2 separate regions of the Homo sapiens genome follow, and region 2 is linked to region 1. The links are contacts of gene promoters, found by promoter capture Hi-C in human tissues and cell types (Jung and others, 2019). All regions are on one chromosome and are shown on one strand. Each heading gives the region's core, a stretch centred on a gene start or on the middle of the fragment in contact. The rest is flanking DNA. Distances are from core to core; before and after follow the strand shown. Region 1 holds the start of KIF9 (kinesin family member 9). Region 2 overlaps ATRIP (ATR interacting protein).

What was found. Contacts are between HindIII fragments. The study calls those that stand out against the background at their distance.
Region 2: a contact is called between a fragment that was not itself captured here and the fragment with the promoter of KIF9 in region 1, in 1 of the 25 tissues and cell types used here (dorsolateral prefrontal cortex).

Annotation. Positions count from the first base shown.
Region 1 is chr3:47,279,684-47,284,969 of GRCh38, forward strand. KIF9 (kinesin family member 9) reads right to left here and starts at 3,116. Exons shown (of 21, transcript NM_182902.4): 1 at 2,812-3,116. KLHL18 (kelch like family member 18) reads left to right here and starts at 3,261. Exons shown (of 10, transcript NM_025010.5): 1 at 3,261-3,411. The coding sequence starts at 3,283. RefSeq lists enhancers at 2,440-3,639, 2,855-3,244. The HindIII fragment of the contact is 9,211 bases long and covers 1-5,286 here.
Region 2 is chr3:48,457,624-48,460,537 of GRCh38, forward strand. It overlaps ATRIP (ATR interacting protein), which reads left to right. Exons shown (of 13, transcript NM_130384.3): 6 at 1,736-1,831; 7 at 2,164-2,293; 8 at 2,487-2,914. ATRIP-TREX1 (ATRIP-TREX1 readthrough) reads left to right here. Exons shown (of 15, transcript NR_153405.1): 6 at 1,736-1,831; 7 at 2,164-2,293; 8 at 2,487-2,914. Among named protein-coding and RNA genes, the nearest start is that of TREX1, 7.1 kb to the right of the region's middle. The HindIII fragment of the contact is 6,156 bases long and covers 1-2,914 here.

The DNA of each region.
Region 1 (5,286 bases), core at 1,866-4,365:
TCAGCTCACTGCAAGCTCCGCCCCCCAGGTTCACGCCATTCTCCTGCCTCAGCCTCCCGAGTAGCTGGGACTACAGGCGCCCGCCACCAAGCCCCGCTAATTTTTCTGTATTTTTAGTAGAGATGGGGTTTCACCGTGTTAGCCAGGATGGTCTCGATCTCCTGACCTCGTGATCTGCCCACCTCAGCGGATCATTTTATATAAAATTATCTAAGAGAGGTCCAATGGGTGTTACCTGACAAAAGTTATTCCAGATTTTATTTATTTATTATTTTTGAGACATTTATTTCAGACAGAGTCTCGATCTCTCTCTCAGGGTGGAGTGCACTGGTGTGATTTCAGCTCACTGCAGCCTGTCTCCCAGGCTCAAGCAATCCTCCCACCTCAACCTCAACCTCCAGAGTAGTGGTAGGACAGGTGTGTGTCACCACACCCGGCTAACGTTTTGCAATTTTGTAGAGATGGGGTTTCAACATGTTGCCCAGGCTGGTCTCAAACTCCTGGGTTCAAGCAATCCACCCACCTCAGCCTCACACTCAATTTCTAAAGCTTGGGGAACCGGGGAACCACTCTTCACATCCAAGGGCCCATTCTCCTGCCCAGGGAAATTCAGATGCCATCCAGGGTATGCTCCGAAAGGGACCATGAAGAAGCAGGGGAGCTCTGGGAGCAGGTGCCCAGGCCTCTCTCCCTGAAGCCCCTGCACAAGAGTAGCACAGGCCAGTTCAGAGCATCAACCTCAGCTGGGCATGGTGGCTCACGCCTGTAATCCCAGCCTTTGGGAGGCCAATGTGGGAGGATCGCTTGAGGCCAGGAATTAGGAACCAGCTTGGGTAACACAGCAAGACCTTGTCTCTACAAAAAATTTTAAAAATTTGCCAAGTGTGGTGGTGCACGCGTGTGGTCCCAATTTCCCAGGAGGCTGAGGCAGGAGGATCACTTGAGCAGTGATGGCACACCACTGCTCTCCAGCCTGGACAACAGCGTGAGACTGTCTCAACAAAACAAAACAAATAAGCAAAAGCATCACTCTCCCTCCAGAGCCTGGCCCTTCTCTGCCCTGCTATTTGCCAACATGCACATGCACACGCAGTCACCCCATGTATGCTTCCCAAGGCCCTCCCATGCTGACACCATGGCTCCAAGCAGGCCAGGAGCCATATCCACCTGCAATAAAGTCTTCCTTTGCACACCCGTCTTGTGAGCCTGCTACTCAGCAGCCCTTTAACACCCAAACATTTAGGGACCCCATGCCATCTTGCACTTACTGAAATACTGCTTGTTACCATTCTTACGTCGCTTCATTTGAGTGGGTTTCAGTTCCCAAAATTAAATTACAAGCTGCTTGAAGGCAAGGATTGTGCTTTTTATCTCTTTTGAATCCCCTCACAATGTCCAGGGCAGAGCCCAGCACAGAGTAGGTATTCAGGAAATGGCGGTGGTTGGTGATGGTAATGGCTGGAAGTCAGAGGGCAGCTGAATCTTCATATGTGGGTCTATCTTCAGTCACTACTGAGAGAGTCCCAAGGGGCATATGATGTCACTCCCCTTCCATGACAACTCCAACCAAAGCCCACAGCCCTTCCAGGAGGACACTTGGTTTCCAGGTGCAAAAATCCACATCCAGCACCTCACCACACGCTTTTTTTGTTTTTGTTTTTGTTTTTTGTTTATTTGTTTTTGTGACAGGGTCTCACTCTGTCACCTAGGCTGGAGTGCAGTGAAACAATCTCGGTTCACCGTAGCCTCCACATCCTGGGTTCAAGCGATCCTCCCACCTCAGCCCCGCAAGTAGCTAGGACTACAGGCGTGCACCACCACGCCCGGGTAATTTTTGTATTTTTCGTAGAGACAGGGTTTCGCCATGTTGCCCAGGCTGGTCTTGAACTCCTGAGCTCAAGCAATCCGCTCACCTCAGCCTCCCAAAGTGCTAGGATTACAGGCGTGAGCCACGGCGCCCGGCCCCCTCCCTTTCTCCCTCAGGACCTTGTGGGGAATGTCTCTCCTTGGGGAACCACCCTTTGATATTTCTGGTATAACAAAGCAAGTCTCTGAATGGCCACCAGGAGACTTCTGTGTTAAGGCGCTCGAGGTTTCCTCATTTGTCTTTAGTGGGAATGAACAGAATTGGCAACAAGCAGCCATGAAGACTAGACAAGAGGAAAGGGAGCGTTTGGTGGGGTGGAAGGCACCAGGTGGGTCCCTATCTTCCAGTGCTCCCGTCCAGATGAGGGGCTGTCATGGGGAACCCTCATAGCTACCCGTAGCGGCAGCACCAACACCCGAATCCAAAACACTGGGTCCAACTGCACCTGGCCTTGGCTGAACAAGACTAGGATGCAGGCAAAACTAGACTTTCTCCTTTTTCTCACCCAATGTGCCGGACCCCCGCGTGGAGCCTGGGCGGCAGTGGGCTTTGGACCCATTCCGGTCCCTCTCTGGAGAGGTTTCCTCACCTGTAACACGAAGGGCTCCGACTGGTGATCCCAAAGCCCCCTCTAGTTCGAAAACTGACTAGTACGGAAGAGTCCAGACGACCTCTGGCTCCCTGCCTCACGGCCTCTATGTCCTGGACGCGACGTGGGACCCCTTTGTGGGACCAATGAACATTAGCTCCGAAGACCGTAAGCCGCGGTCAGGTTGAAAGGACTCCCGCGACGTCGAGCCCTCCTTCGCCTGGGTTTCAGAGATGAGCGACCCAGCTGGGAACCCCCAGATAAAGCGGTTTTTGGACCCCAGCCACTTTCAGCAGTCCGGGCGCACACCCTTTTCCCGTCTCCCCACTCCCACCGGCGAGCAGCCCCTGCTCACCGTTCACCAGGCAGCGACGCTCCCGGGACGCGACTGCCGCAACCGAAACCACCTGCACTCCCCACGCGGGGCTGCCTGGCTGTGTACATAGTCGCCATGGCAACGGGTCGCTTCCGGGGATTCCGGAAGTGTCGGGGTGGCGGAAATGAAGTCCGAGGTCCTACGTCGAGGATACGGGTGAGGTCATGGCCGAATCGGGAAGACGAGAGATGGGGCCGATTGATCTAGAAAGACTTCGGCGGATGCACATGCGAAGTCAAGGTCGAGATAGCGAGGGAACGAAGGCCGCACATGAACCAGGAAGCGGAGTGGCGGGGCTTCCGGCGCCGAGGAGATTCAACTACGGCGGCCGCGGAGGCCCGTCCGATTGCTGCTCCGCGCTCCGAGCGGCTGTCGGCGTGCGCTATCGCCCCGCCCTGGTTAGTGTCTAGCCGGCCGGCGAGGCCTGCGCAGTTGCAGCGGCCGGGGAAGATGGTGGAGGACGGCGCGGAGGAGCTGGAGGATCTGGTGCACTTCTCCGTGTCTGAGTTGCCTAGTCGCGGCTACGGCGTCATGGAGGAGATCCGGCGGCAGGGCAAGCTGTGCGACGTGACCCTCAAGGTACCGCGGACTGGGCGGCAGCGGGCTGAGGGAAAAGGGGTCGAGCGGGGAGTAAAAAGGGGCGGGGGACAGAGAAAGAGAGGTCTAGCAGGGAGAGGGGTGGGGAGAAGAGGTGTGAGGGGGGCCGAGTAGTGGGGAGAGAGGTGCCGAGCAAAAGGGGATCGGGGCCGAGTGGGGAGAGGAAGAGGACAACCTTTCAGCCCTTGAAAGGAAAGGTTGAGAGGTGCGCCGCTTAGGCCCTTGGAGTGGGAGACACGGGTGACAGCCTCCTTTTTCTGTCATGCAGACAAGAGAAAATGGACTTACCTTCTATGGAGGCAGGGGCGGTGGCCGGCTCCACATGCTGATGGGCACCACTGAAGAACCTTCTCTTGTCACTACAGATATTTCTTTGTGCCTGTCGAACTTGGCTGTGCTGTTCTAGAAGAGAAGGCTTCTCCTTAGGAATCATTGCCCTTAATTGTTGAATTACTACTTTGTCTCTTAAGAGCTTTTAAAATCTTCTCTGGAAAATTTTTGAGGTGGGAAGCCACCCTGCCCCATACTGGAAGGCACCACTCACCACCACAAAGGTCCCCGGGGCTGGGCCTGCTGGCCGCGTGGGGAGAGGGATGCTGACTGATATTAAGAGGGAAAGATATCTTAACCACCTGTTCCCCACCAGCATTCTGGTCGCTAGAGCCAGCCTCCCTCCTGTGCCTGGGTCTTTTCATGAGGAAGAGGCATGCTGTGCTGCTGCCTGGCCAAGCCACCGAACCATGTGGAGACGTCCGGTTGGGGAGATGATCAGTGGGGCTCCCTGTTGGGCTTTAGCTGGAAAGCTCTCAGCATCTGTGCGTGATCCCTGTTTAAAAAACAAACAGGGCAGGCATGGTGGCTCACACCTGTAATCCCAGCACTTTGAGAGGCGAGAGGATCACTTGAGTGGGGGAATTGGAGACCAGCCTGGGCTATGTAGGGAGACCCTGTCTCTACAAATAATAAAAAATTGTCTGGGCATGGTAGCCTGTGCCCGTAGTCCCAGCTACTCAGGAGGGTGAGGTGGGAGGATCGCTTGAGCCTAGGAGGTCAAGCCTGCAGTGAGTTGTAATCACACCACTGCACTCCAGCCTGGGCAACACAGCAAGATCCTATTTCTCCTATTTCTCTCTGTCTCTCTCACACACACACACACACACAAATAAATAAATAAAAGAAAAAATAAAACTATGCAGAGATTCTTTTGCTCTTCTTTTCTTTTTTCTTTTTTTTTTTTTTTTTGAGACGGAGTCTCGTTCTGTTGCCCAGGCTGGAGTGCAGTGGCGCTATCTTGGCTCACTGAAACTCTCTCTCCTGGGTTCAAGCGATTCTCCTGCCTCAGCCTCCCCAGCAGCTGGGACTACAGGCGCGCACCACTACCCCTGGCTAATTTTTTCTATTTTTAGTAGAGACAGGGTTTCACCATGTTGCTCAGGCTGGTCTCGAACTCCTGAGCTTCAGCAGTCTGCCTGTCTCGGCCTCCCAAAGTGCTAGAATTACACGCGTGAGTCACCGCGCCCAGCCTGCTCTTCTTATTTTCTACATGGTTAAGGAAACTTTTCTTCTGCAACATAGTTGAGTCAGACCTCTGGAGATGGTAGAGTAGGATGGTTGAGTATGGCTTTGAAAGCAGAAGGATTTGGATTAAAATCCTAGTTGTAACCTTGAGCAAGTTACTTAATCTCTGTAAGCCTCGGTTTTTTTGCTTTTATTTTTATTTTTTTGAGACAGAGTCTCGCTGTGTGGCACAGGCTGGAGTGCAGTGGCATGATCTTGGCTCACTGCAACCTCCACCTCCTGGCTTCAAGCCAGTCTCCTGCCTTAGCCTCCCAAGTAGCTGGGACTACAGGCGCCCGC
Region 2 (2,914 bases), core at 276-2,775, 1.2 Mb after region 1:
TAATTTCTTGCCACATGGGCCTCTGCACATGGATATGGGGTATCCTCTTAACCTGGTGGGTGGCTTCCTCTAAAGCTAGCAAATCCAGAGAGAGCGAGCCAGGCAGAAGCTATCCATTTATGGCCTAGCCTCAGAAGTCACACAGCATCCCCTCTGCCACATTGTATTTGTTAGAAGCAAATCACTGAGTCTGGGCGTCATTCAAGGGGAGAAACCAAGCTTATACCTTTTTTTTAATTTTTATTTTTTATTTTTATTTTATTATTATACTTTAAATTTTAGGGTACATGTGCACAACGTGCAGGTGTGTTACGTATGTATACATGTGCCATGTTGGTGTGTTGCACCCATTAACTCGTCATTTAGCATTAGGTATATCTCCTAATGCTATCCCTCCCCCCTCCTCCCAAGCTTATACCTTTTGAAGGGGAGTTGTGTCAAAGCATTTGTGGGCCTTTTTTTTTTTTTTTTTGAGGCGGAGTCTCACCCTGTCACCCAGGCTGGAGTGCAATGGCACGATCTCAGCTCACTGCAACTTCCGCCTCCCGGGTTCAAGTGATTCTCCTGCCTCAGACTCCCGAATAGCTGGGATTACAGGCACCTGCCATCATGCTTGTGGGCATATTTTTAAACCATCACAGCATCAATTGACCATGCCAAAAACCTAGCTAGTATGCAGGAATCTGTTTTTCTTTTCTTGTTTTTTTTTTTTTTCTTTGAGGCGGAGTCTCACTCTGTCACCAGGCTGGAGTGCAGTGGCGTGATCTCGGCTCACTGTAACCTCTGCCTCCCATGTTCAAGCGATTCTCCTGCCTCAGCCTCCCGAGTAGCTGGGACTACAGGCATGCGCCACCACACCCAGCTAATTTTTGTATTTTTAGTAGAGACAGGTTTCACCATGTTGGCCTGGATGGTCTCAATCTCATGACCTCGTGATCCACCCACTTCAGCCTCCCAAAATGCTGGGATTACAGGCATGAGCCACCGTGCCCAGCCTCTGTTTTCCTTTTGTAGTCCAGCTTTTGAGTTTTTATAACTCAGTCCAGATTGAGGGGATCTGCTGTTTTTTAGAGAGAGACAATCTAACATCAGTAGGTTTTCAGACTGCTATGTCAGTGTATCTTATAAATCGGATACATTGACCCTCTTCTTACCATCAACCTTTCAAATCCTTGGCCATCATAACACTTCTGAGAAACTGTAGCCCACTTACATTTTTGGCATCTAGCAGCTAAAGGGGCAGTGTACAGTAGTGTTACAAGCAGGCAGTAGAGCCCAGTAGCCTGGATGTGAGTCCCAGTAATGCTGTTAACTGGCTTATATGATTTGGGCAAGTCCTTTAGTCTCTGTGCCTCAGTTTCCCTATATGTAAAACAGACCTAATGATAAATCCTTGTAGGGTCACTGAGGAACAAATGGGCTGATGCGTATAGAGCTCTTAAAACACTGTCTAGCACGTAACAAGCACCATGTCAATGTTAGTGGTCACTGTTTTATCTAATTGCCTCATTTTGAGTGAGGCAAACAGCTTGATTTTCTTTTCCTTTCCTTGTATGAGTTCCTGTTTTACATAAGGAAGGTAAAAGATGCAGGGCTCTTGAGCCGCTTTGGCTCTTGTTTGTTCCAAGTTCGAAGAAGTAGAACAGCGTGTGTTTTAAACTCATTGCATGTAAAAGTTTCTAATATGCCCATGCTTCTGGGCTCAAGTTTTGATTTACATTTTATCACATTTCAGATAGTAAGCCCCACAGTCTGAGAGGTGACTCCATAAAACAAGAAGAGGCCCAGAAAAGCTTTGTTGACAGCTGGAGACAGAGATCAAACACTCAAGGTACCAGAATCCCTGCTTCTCCTGCAGGGGCCTGCATGGCTCTGAGTAATATGCAGAAGAATTGCCCAGGCCTCTGAGAACCGGTGCCCCGGGCAGTCCTTCAGAGAGTCCAGGGAAGTCAAAGTATGTGGCTTAAGCAGAAGACTTTATAAAGTGGAAAGGGCCAAGGGCAGGTATGTCCCAGAGCCTTCCGCACCCACAGGCATCTTCCTGGGGCTTAGTGGCAGCCTAGAGGACAGTTGGCATCCAAAGAATCCTTACTGTTTCCTTCTGAAAGCCACCGAAAAGATCTCCCATGTCAGAACCTTCTAGAGTCATCTTGTCTTCTGCAGGTTCCATTTTGATAAACCTGCTCCTGAAGCAGCCTTTGATCCCAGGGTCATCCCTAAGCCTTTGCCACCTCCTGAGTAGTAGTTCTGAGTCTCCTGCTGGCACCCCCCTGCAGCCACCAGGGTTTGGCAGGTAAGCATAAGACTCCTGGAAAGCTTGTTTGGGAAGGAGCTTCCTGGAAGCAAATTCCTTTCTGGCCCTGGCCAGCCTGAGAAGTCTGTGGGAAGGGCAGGCAGCCTGGAGAATTTGGCAGGCAGGCTGTTTGGGGCTCTTGACCTTATCTCCATCCCACACTTAATCTATTTTTCTTTGTGTTTGTTGCCAGTACCTTGGCTGGAATGTCAGGCCTCAGGACCACAGGTTCTTATGATGGGTCATTTTCCCTCTCAGCCCTGAGAGAAGCACAGAACCTGGCATTCACTGGACTGAATCTGGTTGCCCGGAATGAGTGCTCACGTGATGGAGACCCAGCAGAGGGAGGCAGAAGGGCCTTCCCACTCTGCCAGCTTCCTGGAGCCGTGCATTTCCTCCCCCTTGTACAGTTCTTCATCGGCTTACACTGCCAGGCCCTGCAGGACTTGGCAGCTGCTAAGAGAAGCGGAGCACCTGGGGACTCACCGACACATTCCTCCTGCGTGAGCTCTGGGGTAGAGACCAACCCTGAGGACTCAGTGTGCATCCTGGAAGGCTTCTCTGTGACTGCACTTAGCATTCTTCAGCACCTGGTGTGCCACAGCGGAGCAGTCGTCTCCC